Regions from separate parts of the Homo sapiens genome. Here region 2 is linked to region 1. Evidence: promoter capture Hi-C in 16 types of primary human blood cells and fetal thymus (Javierre and others, 2016). All regions are on one chromosome and are shown on one strand. Each heading gives the region's core, a stretch centred on a gene start or on the middle of the fragment in contact. The rest is flanking DNA. Distances are from core to core; before and after follow the strand shown. Region 1 holds the start of LNCRNA-IUR (lncRNA imatinib upregulated). Region 2 has its middle 26 kb from the start of JRKL.

Region 1 (6,615 bases), core at 2,499-4,998:
ATTTGCTTTGATAGTGATTGTAAATGGGTCATTCATTTATGTATTCACGAAGCAAACAGCATGTTGGATAAAAAGACATGAAAATATAAGAACCTGAGAGAAAAATCACAATATTACAGGGGCATCAGTCAAACCCACAGGAAATTGTCAGTTTGTTTTGATAGACCTATAAACAAAGTGTCACATGATCTAAGTCATGCCTCTTGTCTGGTGCAAGCAGGGAAAGCTTCACAACAGAGGTGACATATTAATTGGACTTGGAAAACCACATAGGAGTTCACCAGGGTTTGGAAGAACACATAGGAGTTCATAAGGCAGAGAGGAAGGGAAAGGACTTTCCAGAAAGGGGAAGCAATAAGCCAAAATGTTTTGACCTGCAGGTTGTTCCCAAGGAGTGACTGAACTCTTGTATCCTGCAGCAAGCAGGCTTGGTAGGAGAGAAACGTTAAGGAGAGAGGAATGTTGCCAATGTCAAGGGAAGGAGTGGTGAGGCTTGGCCCTGGCAGGAGTCTAGTAGGGGGATGAAGAAGAGGAGCTATCAGGCTGCAAAAAGAACATTGAATCAGGATGGGCAGGTCTGCTTCATGGCCCAGACTCTTCCAACCACTCACTATGGGACCTTGGCTAAGTTAACCACCCTCTCTATGCTTCAGTTTCCTCATGTGCAAGTGAAGATAATAACCCCCACCTCGCTGTGTTGTTGCCAGATAACACATGCAAAATCATTAACACAGTGCCTGCCGCAGATGTGCTCAAACAGGTCAGCCACTGGTGTTACCATTAGATATGCAGCTTCAGGGACTTATTTTGTCTCACCAATCCTACTTTCCTCGTCAATAAAGTGAGAACGAGAGTGTCTGCCTTGCATGCATCAGAAACTGTGAAGATACAATCAAGTAATACAAGCTGTACAGAATGAGATAATGAAGCCTACATTTTAAAATATAGCAGGCATCTACCAATCATAACGCAGTTTCACTTTCATTACGACGTTTAACTTTTTCTGACAACAACCTTATGAGGTAGGATTATAATGATGTTTATTTTACATGTGATGAAAGTTGGGTTCCTTCATTTAATAGATGCTCCTTGAGCAGGTTCTGTGAACAAGACAAGACCATGGGAATTGTAGTTGAGAAGAGGAAACAGACTGCAGGTACATGCTGGGGGAACCGGGGCTCAGGGCTTCGCCCTGCTATGTCTCTACTCACTCTCTGATGATCTCTCCAAGGGACTGATGGGGCTTTCAGTCCCATGCCTGTATCATGGCAACCCATATTTCTATCTCCAGCCCAGCCCTCTCCAGACCTGTGTGTCTGCCCAATCAATCTCTCCACTTGTTTTTCTAATGAACACCTCAAACCTAAAATATATAACATTAAGCTGTCTTATCCCTCTACCCCAGCATCTTCCAATCTCAGCCAGCAGCATCTCCGTTTTTCCAGCTGCTTGGAGTCATCCCTGATTCCTGTCTTTTTCTCATACCCAAAAAAACAATCAGACAGAAAATCTTATATATATGTAAATCTTCGCCCCGGTTGGAGTGCAATGGCGCAATCTCGGCTCACTGAAACCTCTGCCTCCTGGGTTCACGCTATTCTCTTGCCTCAGCCTCCCGAGTAGGTGGGATTAAGGGTGCACACCATCACACCCAGCTAATGTTTTGTATTTTTATTGATTGATTGATTGACTGAGACAGAGTCTCGCTCTGTCGCCCAGGCTGGAGTGCCGTGGCGCCATCTCGGCTCACTGCAAGCTCTGCCTCCCAGGTTCACACCATTCTCCTGCCACAGCCTCCCGAGTAGCTGGGACTACGGGCACCTGCCACCACTCCCTGCTAATTTTTTTTTTTTTTTTTTTTTAGTAGAGACGGGGTTTCACCGTGTTAGCCAGGATGGTCTCGATCTCCTGACCTCTTGATCCGCTCACCTTGGCCTCCCAAAGTGCTGGGATTACAGGCGTGAGCCACCGCGCCCGGCCTTTTATCCTACTTTCAAAAAACATACCCAGAGTCTGAGTGTTTCTCCTTACCTCCAGCGCCACTCCATGGCCCGAGCTCTGTTTCACCTGGTTCTCACCTGGATCGCGGCCTCCAATTTGCGCAGTGACCCCTACAGTCTATTCTCCAAACAGCAGCTGGCGTGGTCATTATGAAAAGCAATGTCCACCTGCTGCTCAAAAACCCACGAATGGCTCCCCATTTCTTTCCCATTAAAGCCAAAGTCTAAAACATTTACAAAGCGTTATATGATCAGTTCCTACCTGCTTTCCTTATGTTGGAGGCTGTGAAGCTCCTTAATATATAAACAGTTCTCAGGAGAAGGAATAAAAGCACAGCCACCTCCTCAGCAGAGCCAGTTTACACTCTGCTAGAGACAAGAGGAGCTGGGACCTTCTCCCCTAACCCTTACTGCATATGTGAGAGAAGCCAGACCTGCTGGATCGACTGGAAATGCCCAGTGCCTGAGACGGGGAGGAAAGAGAAGCCGTGGGGAGGAAAAGACTGTAAACCTAAAAGGCATTGAAGTCCCACCTCACCAGTTAGGCAGGGAGGAGAAAGAGGCCTAGGGCGCTCGGGAACTTGGAATAAGGTTGCCCTCTGCGGGTGAAACTGTGAAATATCTCACAGTGGAGGAGGGCGGAGACTGTTCGCAGAGGGGCCCGGCGAAAACGTCACCCTACTGGAGGTACGAACGCATCGCAGACTGGGGGCGCCCGAGCGCATCCCAGACGCGAGGGCAAAGGCCCAGGAGGACTGTGGGGCTCTCGGAAGTATCCGATCACCTTGCGAGGAGTCCGCCGGCTGTCCGAGCCTGATGTCACTGCAACTTCGATTCCTCCGACGCCCCTACTCTTACTTCCCAGTCTTCAGGCAACTTCTCCGCTTCGGCCTCCCCTAGGCCTTGGCCCCAGAGAGGGGACGCACTCCACAGGTGGATTCGCACGTGTGGGCCCTCGGCAGCACTTTCTCGTGCAAATTAACAGGTGGCCCTCATTGTGGAAGCACCGCCCAGCCTTTCCCGGGGAGGTCACCAGGGCGAGGCCGCTCAAGGTCTGCAGGCGCCCGGCGTTAGCGGGATCCTCCCCGCGCACTGGTCCGAGGAGGCCAGGAGAGGGCGAACCAGTCCCCGACCAGCGGCCCTTCCGGGGGTGGGCTCTGACCCCACCGAGCGGTTAGAGGGTCCAGGAGCTCCAAAGGGTAGGGCAGAATTGGGTAGATGAGGGTGCATTTTTCTGGGAGGAGTCTAAGGCGTCGCTGACTCTCAAAGGCCCGCATCCGGAGAAAGGGAAAGAGCCCCGTCCCGGGAGGAAGGACGAGAGGCTGGCCCGCGGGAAGGAGCCCTGGCAGTCCCTCCTGGCCTAGGTCTACCTCTTTGATCTCACCGTCCCCGTGGCGGCGAGTGCCACCAAAGATGAGAGAGGCCAGCAGGTATCGGGAGAGAGCTGAGGGGTCGGCGCCGGCGGGACCCCAGATTGGAGCCGCCGTCGTCGGACGGGCAGACCCTGCTGTAATAGCTCCCGGCCGGCCACGGTAGGCAGGTGGGGCCCACCGCGAGTCCTAGTGAAAAACACCTTCCTCTTGATTCTCTCAAAGGAACCCGAGCCCTGGGAAGGGACATCAAGGCGCTCCCGAGACTCCGGAGACGGCCAACAGCCCCAAAAGAGAGTACTCGGCTATCCAGCCGCCCTTATCCAAGCGGAGAATCTCTCTCCACCTCCGCCCTCCCGGGACTCAAAGTTGTTTGTGGAGCCTCCAGGTTTCCTTGTAGATGGGCACGATATGCACTGTGTGCGCGCGCGCGCACACACACACACACACACACACACACACACACACACACGTATATGTATTTTTCCAGTGGCCACTGCAGGATTGCCAGCTTTCGGAAATGAGCATCCGCTCTCTCTCTCGGGACTGGGCGTGGGGTTCACCGAAAGGAGAGGAAGAGACCTTGCGTTTGCGCTGGGCCTGCTCGATGCCAGGCCATTCTAGGCTTCTGTCTATCCTGGTTTCTGGTCTGTGCGTTGTGGGTAGCAGCATTGGCGTATTACGCCGGAGGGAGCAGGCTGAGCGAGGCTCCAGAAGGTGCGCAATAGCCGGAGAGGAAAGGGCGATGCTGTCACCTAGCCCCCTCCCTGAGACTCCATTCAGCCCAGAAAAAGGAGCTGCTTTCTCCCCCATCTACCCTAGGAGAAAATAAACGGTCGCTGGCATTTTCCTGCGTCTTTTAATTTTGCCAGAACTGTTTTGGGTTGGCTATTGTGGGCCAGGATGGAGGCCTTCTCCTCCCGGGAGCAAACCTGCCCACGCCCAGGCCGGCAGTGGAGTCAGCCTTGCCCCAGCCTGCCCTCCAGGGAAACAATGCCCCTTTGTCCCTCGCCCTCCCGGGGCTGATACAGCCCCTCCCCTTAGCTTAGGGCTCCCTCCCGTTAGAGCATTCCAATGATTGCCACAAGTCACACTTTTCTTTGAGGTCTCTGCCTGGGAAGAAAACAAAGCAGCCCTCCTAATCACACGGAGGGAGTGGAACTTTTCCTGCCCTCTGACTATGTGCCAGCCTTGGCTCCTCCCTGAAGCCCTGTCTAGAGGGCTTATTAGGTCACTTATGTTTTGTACCTCGTGTGAAGTCCCACAATCAGTAGATTATAGAGGGGAGCACAAACCCAGCAGTGTCTGACATAGAGAAATTACACATACATACATACACACATACATACATACATACACACACACACATACACACATACATATACATACATACATACATACATACACACACATACATACACACATACATACACACATACACATACATACATACATACATATATACATACATATATATAGTCTTTCCACCACCCAGGATTGAAAATTAATGCTGTTTTTGACATTGTCCGTTATCCACCCAAACCCTCCAAAAAGGCTGGCTGGCATTTGCTTGGCTCTAGTTCTACCTGCCCACCTTCTCCTTTGCCTAATCCTGAGTTTTCCCCTTCCCCACGTGTGTTCCCCTTGAGCACTTTTTTGCTAACTTCCTGCATGCTACTGTCATCTCAGAGACTGATTCCTGGGGAGCCCAACCTGTAACATGGAGCTCAGTGGAAAGCACATGGAATGTGGACTGAGACATGACTGTGTTCAAACCCTGGCTCTGTCGCTAAGTGGTTACTTGGTTTGGGGCAAGGCATTTAATCCCTCTAAAGTTCACTTTCATCTGGGGGGAAAAGATAACTGTGAGGATTAAGTGAGTTTATATATAGTGTATGAGTGCCTGGACCACTGAAGCAGTGCAGCAGATGTTAGCTCCTCCTTCAGTAATATTTATTGAACATGGCATCCCAAGTGTTACTAGAATTTATATTTCTACTTTATAAATTTTACTAGAATTTATGTTTTCATATTCTTGATACTAATACTGCATTTTTGAAAGGGGTGACTCCTTCCTTATTAAAGTTTTAGAACACTATCCTAAGTGAAGTACAATGGTTACTAAATTAGATGACATCTGGATCTGGCTGATCTTGAACAAGCAGGTTAATCATATAACTTAGCTAGGTCATTGTGAAATTTTCTCCTGTGTAGAAAGAGATATTAATAGTAACTACTGTGGCAGATGGCATTTTCCATAAATGCCTACAAAATACTTTCCATCTCAGCTGCTCTTCAGAAATGACCTTGCCATTCCTCCATCAACAGATGAAATCTAATTCCCCTTCTTTTGCATCTGGGCTGGCCTCAGGGACTTACTTGGGCATTGGAATGTGGCAAAAGTGATGGTCTGGGACTTCCAAGGCTAGTTCATACAAGCTAAGTCATTCTGTGTGAGTCTTTTGGGATGTTCCCTCTTCCAACCCAGCCACCATACTGTGAGAAGCCTGAACACTTGGAAAGCCATGTGTAGGTGCTCTGGCTAACAGTCCCAGCCAACAGCAAGCATCAACTGCCCACCGAGTGAGCTCTCCTGACATCCAGCACCTTTGGGCCTTCTGAAGACTGCAGCACCAGCCCACATCTGGGACCCCAAAAAGAATGGGAATAAACTGAGCCCAGTTAGTATACAAACCAAGACAGATAATAATAAATGGTTGTTTTAAGCCATTAAGTTATGGAGTGGTTTGTTATGCAGCAATAGAAACTAAATCACTAGCTCCTAGGGTTATGTGAAATCAAGGAAGACAATGCATGCAAACTGATTACTAATGTGCTTCGTAAATAATTAATACGGTTGCAGAAAAAAGTAAGCTGATTATATGGGGAGATAAAACATGGGCACAAATAACTGCAAAACTAAGCAGGCATCATCTGAATCAATATTTAGTGGGCACCTATCCCATGCCAGACTGTCTACATAATCATAGAATCTCCAAGTAGAACAGAATTTGGGAGCTATTCTAGTTCAACCTCCCACTTAGTGAGGACATTTCTTCTTGAATGCTTGTTTAATACAACTATTATTTATTAAGCCTCGCTCCGCACCAGAAAGTGTGGTAGATGGTAATGTCAGGAAGTGGGATAGAAAGATAACTAAGACACAGCCCAGGGCCAGAGGCAAACACATGAAGAGTTTCTGCTCAGTGTCATATGTGCAGGGAGAGAGGATACGAAGAAGACAG
Region 2 (6,615 bases), core at 2,046-4,545, 1.3 Mb before region 1:
TATATTTTTGGCACCTTTATCAAAAATGATTGCTCTGTAGATGTATGCATTTGTTTTTTGGTCCTCAATTCTATTCCATTGGTCTATGTGTCTGTTTTTATGCCAGTACCACGCTGTTTTGGTTACTATAGCTCTGTAGAATAATTTGAAGTCAAGTAATGTGAGTTGTATGAACATTTTAACAATTTTGATTCTTCTAGTCTATTAAAATGAATATCTTTCTATTTTGTGTGTGTGTCGTCTTCAATTTCTTGCATCAATGTTTTATACTTTTCTTTGTAGCTGTATTAGTCCATTCTCACACTGCTATGAAGAAATACCCCCAACTGGGTAATTTATAAAGGAAAGAGGTTTAATTGACTCACAGTTCCACATTGCTGGGGAGGCCTCAGAAAACTTACAATCATGGTGGAAGACAAAGGATAAGCAGGCACCTTCTTTACAGGGAAGCAGGACGGAGTAAGTACAAGCAGGGGAAATGCCAGGCGCTTATAAAACCATCAGATCTTGTGAGACTCACTCACTATCACAAAAACAGTGTAGGGGAAACCACCCCCATCATCCAATTACCTCCACCTGGTCCTGCCCTTGACATGTGGGAATTATGGGGATTACAATTCAAGGTGAGATGTGGGTGAGCACACAGAGCCAGACCATATCTGTAGTGATTTTTCACTTCTTTGGTTAAGTTAATTCCTGTGTATTTTTTTGTAGTACTGTAAATGGTACTACTTTCTTTTTTTCTTTTTCAGCTTGTTCACTGTTGGCATATAGAAATACTACTGATTTTGGTATGTTGAGTTTGTATCCTGCAACTTGATTGAATTTGTTTATCAGTTCTAATAGGTTTTTGGTCAAGTCTTTAGGTTTTTCCAAATATAAGATCACATCATCTGGAAACAAGGATAATTTTACTGTTTCCTTTACAATTTGGATGTCATTTATTTCTTTCCCATGTCTGACTACTCTACCGCGGACTTCCAGTTGAATTACAGTGGTAAACGTGGGCATCCTTGTCATGTTCCAGATCTTAGCAGAAAGTCTTTCAGTTTTCCCTCAGTCAGTATAATATTAGCTGCGGGTCTGTCATAGCTTTTATTACTTTGTGGTACAGTCCTTATATACCCAGTTTTTGAGGCTTTTTATCATTAATGGATGTTGAATTTAATCAAACGCTTTCTCAGTATCAGTTGAAATGATCACATGGTTTTTGTCCTTCATTCTGTTATATGCTGTATCACATTGATTGTTTTGTGTATGTTGAACCATCTTTGCATCCCTGGGATAAATCTCCCTTGGTCATGATTAATGGTCTTTTTAACTGGTGATCTTTTTAGTTGCTGAATTCAGTTTGCTGGTATCTTGTTGAGGATTTTTGCATCAATGTTCATCAGGGATATTGGCTTGTAGTTTTCTTTTTTTGATGTATCTTTGTTTGGTTTCAATACAGGGTAATATGAGCTTCATATAATGAGTTCAAAAGTATTCCCTTATCTATTTTTTTGGAATAGTTTGGTGGGATTAGTATTACTTCTTCTTTAAATGTTTGGTATTATTCAGCAGTGAAGCCTTTGGGTCCCAGAATTTTCTTTGCTGGGAGATTTGTTTAAATTACAGCTTCAATCTCATGACTTGTTATTTGACTATTCAAGTGGTACATCTTCTTGGTTCAATCTTGGTGGGTTGTATGTATCTAGGAATTTGTTCATTTCTTCTAGGATTTCCAATTTATTCGCATATATTTGCTCATAGTGGCCATAATGATCCTTTGAATTTCTGCAGTATCAGTTGTAATGTATCCCTTTTCAGCTCTGATTGTATTTATTTGGGTTGTCTCTCTTTCTTAGTTAAACTAAAGGTTTGTCTATTTTGTTTATCTTTTCAGAAAACCAACTTTTTGTTTGCTAATCCTTTGTATTGCTTTGTTCCCATTTCATTTATTTCCGCTCTGACCTATTATTATTTTTCTTCTACTAACTTTGGGTTTTGTTTGCTCTTGCTTTTCTAGTTCGTTAAGATGAATCATTAGGTTATTAAAGTTTTTCTTCCTTTTGATGTAACCATTTACAGCTATAAACTTGCCTCTTAGTACTGCTTTCACTATATCTCATAGTTTTGAGTATGTCATGTTTCCATTTTCATTTCTTTGAAGAAAATTTTCAGTTTTCTTCTCAATCTCTTCACTGACCCACTGGTCATTCAGGAACATATTATATTCCATGTGTTTATATAGTTTTCAAAATTAGTCTTGTTACTGATTTCTAGTTTTATTCCATGTAGTCAGAGAAGACACTTGATATTAGTTCAATTTTTTGAATTTTTTTTTCCCCCGAGACAGAGTTTTGCTCTGTCCCCCAGGCTAGAGTGCAGTGGCGCAATCTCCGCTCACTGCAAGCTCCACCTCCCGGGTTCACGCCATTCTCCTGCCTCAGCCTCCCAAGTAGCTGGGACTACAGGAGCCCGCCACCACACCCGGCTAATTTTTTGTATTTTTAGTAGAGACAGGGTTTCACCGTGTTAGCCAGGATGGTCTCGATCTCCTGACCTCGTGATCCACCCGCCTCCGCCTCCCAAAGTGCTGGGATTACAGGCGTGAGCCACCGCGCCCAGCCTTTGAATATTTTAAGACTTGTTCTGTGGCCTAACATATGGTTTATCATTGACATTGATCCATGTGCTGAGGAGAACAATGTGTATTCTGCAGCCGTTGAATAAAATGTTCTGTAAGTATCTATTAGGTCCATTCGGTCTATACTGCAGATTAAGTCTGATGTTTCTTTGTTGATTTTCTGTCTGGAAGATCTATTATTGTAGTGGGGTCTATCTCCTGCTTTAGCTTTAAAAATATTTGCTTTATATATTTGGGTGCTCCAGTGTTGGGTGTATATAATACTTATGATTGTTACATCCTATTGCTGAATATGCCACTTTATCATTATATAATAATAACACTGTCTCTTTTTTTTTTTTTTTTTTTTTTTTGAGACAGTCTTGCTCTGTCGCTCAGGCTGGAGTGCAGTGGTGCGATCTCAGCTCACTGTAAGCTCCACCTCCCGGGTTCACACCATTCTCCTGCCTCAGCCTCCTGAGCAGCTGGGACTATAGGCGCCTGCCACCACGCCCAGCTAATTTTTTGTATTTTTAGTAGAGACGGGGTCTCACCGTGTTAGCCAGGATGGTCTCGATCTCCTGACCAACACTGTCTCTTTTTATAGTTTTTGTCCTGAAATCTATTTTGTCTAAGTATAGCTACTCCTGCTCTTTTTTGGTTTCCATTGGCATGGAATATCTTTTTTCATCCCCTTATTTTTAGTCTACATGTGTCCTTATAAATCAAGTGCATTTCTTGTAGGCAAGAGATCATTGGGTCTTGTTTTTTCATCTATTCAGCCACTCTATGTCTTTTTGTTTGGAGAGTTTAGTCCATATATATTCAATGTTATTATTGATAAGTAAGAACTTACTACTGCCGTTCTGTTATTTGTTTTATGGTTGTTTTGTAGTCTTCTCTTCCTCCTTTCCTTCCTTTCTGTCTTACTTTTAGTGAAGGTGATTTTCTCTAGTAGTATGTTTTAATTTCTTGCTTTTTATTTTTTTCTGTATCCATTGTATGTTCTTAGATTTGAGGTTATCATAAGGCTTGCAAATAATCCTATAACCTATTATTTTAAACTGATGACAACCAAACACTGATTGCATAAACAAACAAGCAAAAATAAAACGAATAAAAATGCTATATTTTAACTTTTTTCCAACTTTTAAATTTTTGTTTTTATTTATCTTATTACACTATGTCTTAAAAATTGTACTTATTTTTTATCACTTCATCTTTTGTCTTTCTACATACAATATGAGTTTACACACCATGATAAGTGTTATAATATTATGATTTTTCTGTACTTAACTATTACTAGTGAGTTTTGTGCCTTCAGATGATTTTTTATTGCTCATTAACATCTTTTTCTTCCAGATTAAAGAAATCCCTTTAGCATTTCTTGTAGCACAGGTCTGGGGTTGATGAAATCCCTCAGCTTTTATTTGTTGGGAAAGTCTTTATTTTTCTTTGATGTTTGAAGGATATTTTCACTGGATATGCTATTCTAGGGTAAAAGTTGTTTTTCTTCAGTCCTTTATGTCATGCCACTGTCTCCTGGTCTGTAAGGCTTCCACTGAAAAGTCTACTGACAGATGCATTGGAGCTCCATTGAATGTTGTTTATTTTCTCTTGCTCCTTTTAGGATCCTTCTTTATCCTTGATCTTTGGGACCTTGATTATTAAATGCCTTGAGTTAGTCTTCTTTGGGTTAAATCTGGCTGGTATTCTATAACCTTCTTGTACTGAAATATTGTCATCTTTCTTTAGGTTTGGGAAGTTCTCTGTTATTTTCCCTTTGAATAAACTTTCTACCATTATGTTTCTCTCTACTTTCTCTTTAAAGCCAATAACATTTAGATTTGCCCTTTTGAAGCTATTTCCTAGATCTTGTAGGCATGTTTCATTCTTCTTTGTTCTTCTTCCTTTTGTCTCCTCTGATTGTATATTTTCAAATAGTCTGTCTTCAAGCTCACTAATGCTTTCTTCTGCTTGATCAATTCTGCCATGAGGCATTCTTCACTATGTCTACTGCATTTTTTAACTCCAGAATTTCTGCTTGATACTTTTTAATTATTTCAATTTCCTTGTTAAATTTATCTGAAGGATTCTGAATTTCCTGCCTCAGCCTCCCGAGTAGCTGGGACTGCAGGCGCCCGCCACCACACCTGGCTAATTTTTTGTATTTTTAGTAGAGACGGGGTTTCACCGTGTTAGCCAGGATGGTCTCAATCTCCTGACCTTTAAAAATGATGTATTTCTTGTAGTCTTCAAATCAGGACTTGTTTGAATGCATCCTTCCTGGGCAGGCTTTCCAGTTATTTGAAGAGATTTGAGTGTTGTGATCTAAATTTTTGGTCACTGCAGCCATATTTGCACAAAGGGGTATCCCAAGCCCAGTAATGCTGTGGTTCTTGCAAACTCATAAAAGTACTGCGTTGGTGGTCTTGGATATGATCTGGAAGAATTATCTGGATTACCAAGCAGACACTCTTGTTCTTTTCTTCTGCTATCTCCCAAACAGATTCCCTCTCTCTCTGTGCTGAGCTGCTAGAGCTGGGGGAAGGGTAATACAAGCACCCTTGTGGCCACCACCATTGGGGCTGCACTAGGTCAAACTTGAAGCCAGCACAGCACTGGGTCTTCCCCAAGGCCCACTGTAACCACTCCTTGGCTCCCACGTATGTTTGCTTAAGGCCCTAGAGCTCTACAATCAGCAGATGGTGAAGTCACCCAGGTTTATGTCCTTCCTTTAAGGGTGAAAAGTTCCCCCTAGGACCTGGGTGGGTCCAGAGATGCTGGCAGGGAGTCATGGCCTGAAGTCAGTAACCTTAGAAATCTATATGGTGCTCTGTTCTACCACCACTCAGCTGGCACCCAAGCCACAAGACAAAGTCCTTCCCACTCTTTCCTCCCCTTTCCCCATGAAGAGGAGTCTCTCTCCATGTCTACTACCACCACAGGCCCACAGGGGGTACTGCCAGGCTACTGCTGATGTTTGCTTTAAACCCAAGGGCTCTTCTTGTGGTGAATGCTGCCAGGCACAGGACTCACTTTTCAGGCCAGTGGGCTCCCCTCTGGCTCAGGGTAGGTTCAGAGATGACATCCAAAAGCCAAGGCCAGGAACTGAGGATCCCAAGAGCCCACTTTGTGGTATTCTCCACTAAGGCTGAGCTGGTACCTAAACTCAAGACAAAATCCCCTTTACTCTTCCTTCTTTTCCCAAGCAGTAGTCTCTCCCCATAGCCACCACAACTGTGAATGTGCTGGGTCACATCTGAAGCCAGCACATCTCAGAGTCTCACTCAAGGCCCATGGTGTGTACTACCTAGTTGTTGCTGATGATTATTCAGAGCCAAGGGCTCTTTACTCAGCAGATCATGAATCATGCCAGGTCTGGGTCCTTCCCTTCAAGGTAGTGGGTTCCCTTCTGGCCCAGGGCATGTCTGGAAATGTCTGAGAGCTAGGGTGGGCCTGAAATGGGGGCCTCACAAGCTGCCTGGTACCCTATCCTACTGTGTTTGAGCTGGTATCCAAGTTGCAAGACAAAGTATGCTTTACTCTTCCCTCTCCTCTGCCCAAGTGAAAGTAAAGGGTCTCTTTCAGAACTGTGAGCTCTACTTCCTGGAGTTGGAAGAGGGGTGATACTAGCACTCCCTTAGCTGCCCTGGCAGGTTTCTCACTATGTCACTCCCCACCCCAACCACCCACAGTCCACGGACTCTGAGCCCAGCACAGCACTAGGATTTGCCTAGCAGTTGCAGTCCTTGTGGCCTAGGCAGGCTTTCAAGGTTTTTTTTTTAGATCCCCAGAGTACTTTAGCCCACAATGGCAAGGCTTGACAAATTCAGGTTCTGACCACTGGCATGGGTGATTGCCCTTTGACTAACACTGGTCTAAATGCTCCCTCCATGAGTGCCAGCTGAGTTCTACCAAGTGTTGGCAGCACTGCATTCCAATGCAAGTTCCTTAATTGCTGTGCTCTTCCTCTCCCAAGAGTACATATTCTCTCTCCCTGCCAC

What was found. Contacts are between HindIII fragments. The CHiCAGO score rates a contact against its expected background, and 5 or more counts as called.
Region 2: a fragment that was not itself captured here is called in contact with the fragment with the promoter of LNCRNA-IUR in region 1 in 1 of 17 cell types (endothelial precursors); the score reaches 5.4 in endothelial precursors.

The regions. Positions count from the first base shown.
Region 1 is chr11:95,147,672-95,154,286 of GRCh38, reverse strand. LNCRNA-IUR (lncRNA imatinib upregulated) reads right to left here and starts at 3,748. Exons shown (of 3, transcript NR_110303.1): 1 at 2,539-3,748. RefSeq lists a silencer at 2,519-2,628, enhancers at 3,149-3,278, 2,879-3,420, 3,421-3,962 and a cis regulatory region at 6,348-6,615. The HindIII fragment of the contact is 7,632 bases long and covers 229-6,615 here.
Region 2 is chr11:96,412,932-96,419,546 of GRCh38, reverse strand. No RefSeq gene overlaps it. Among named protein-coding and RNA genes, the nearest start is that of JRKL, 26 kb to the right of the region's middle. The HindIII fragment of the contact is 7,145 bases long and covers 1-6,615 here.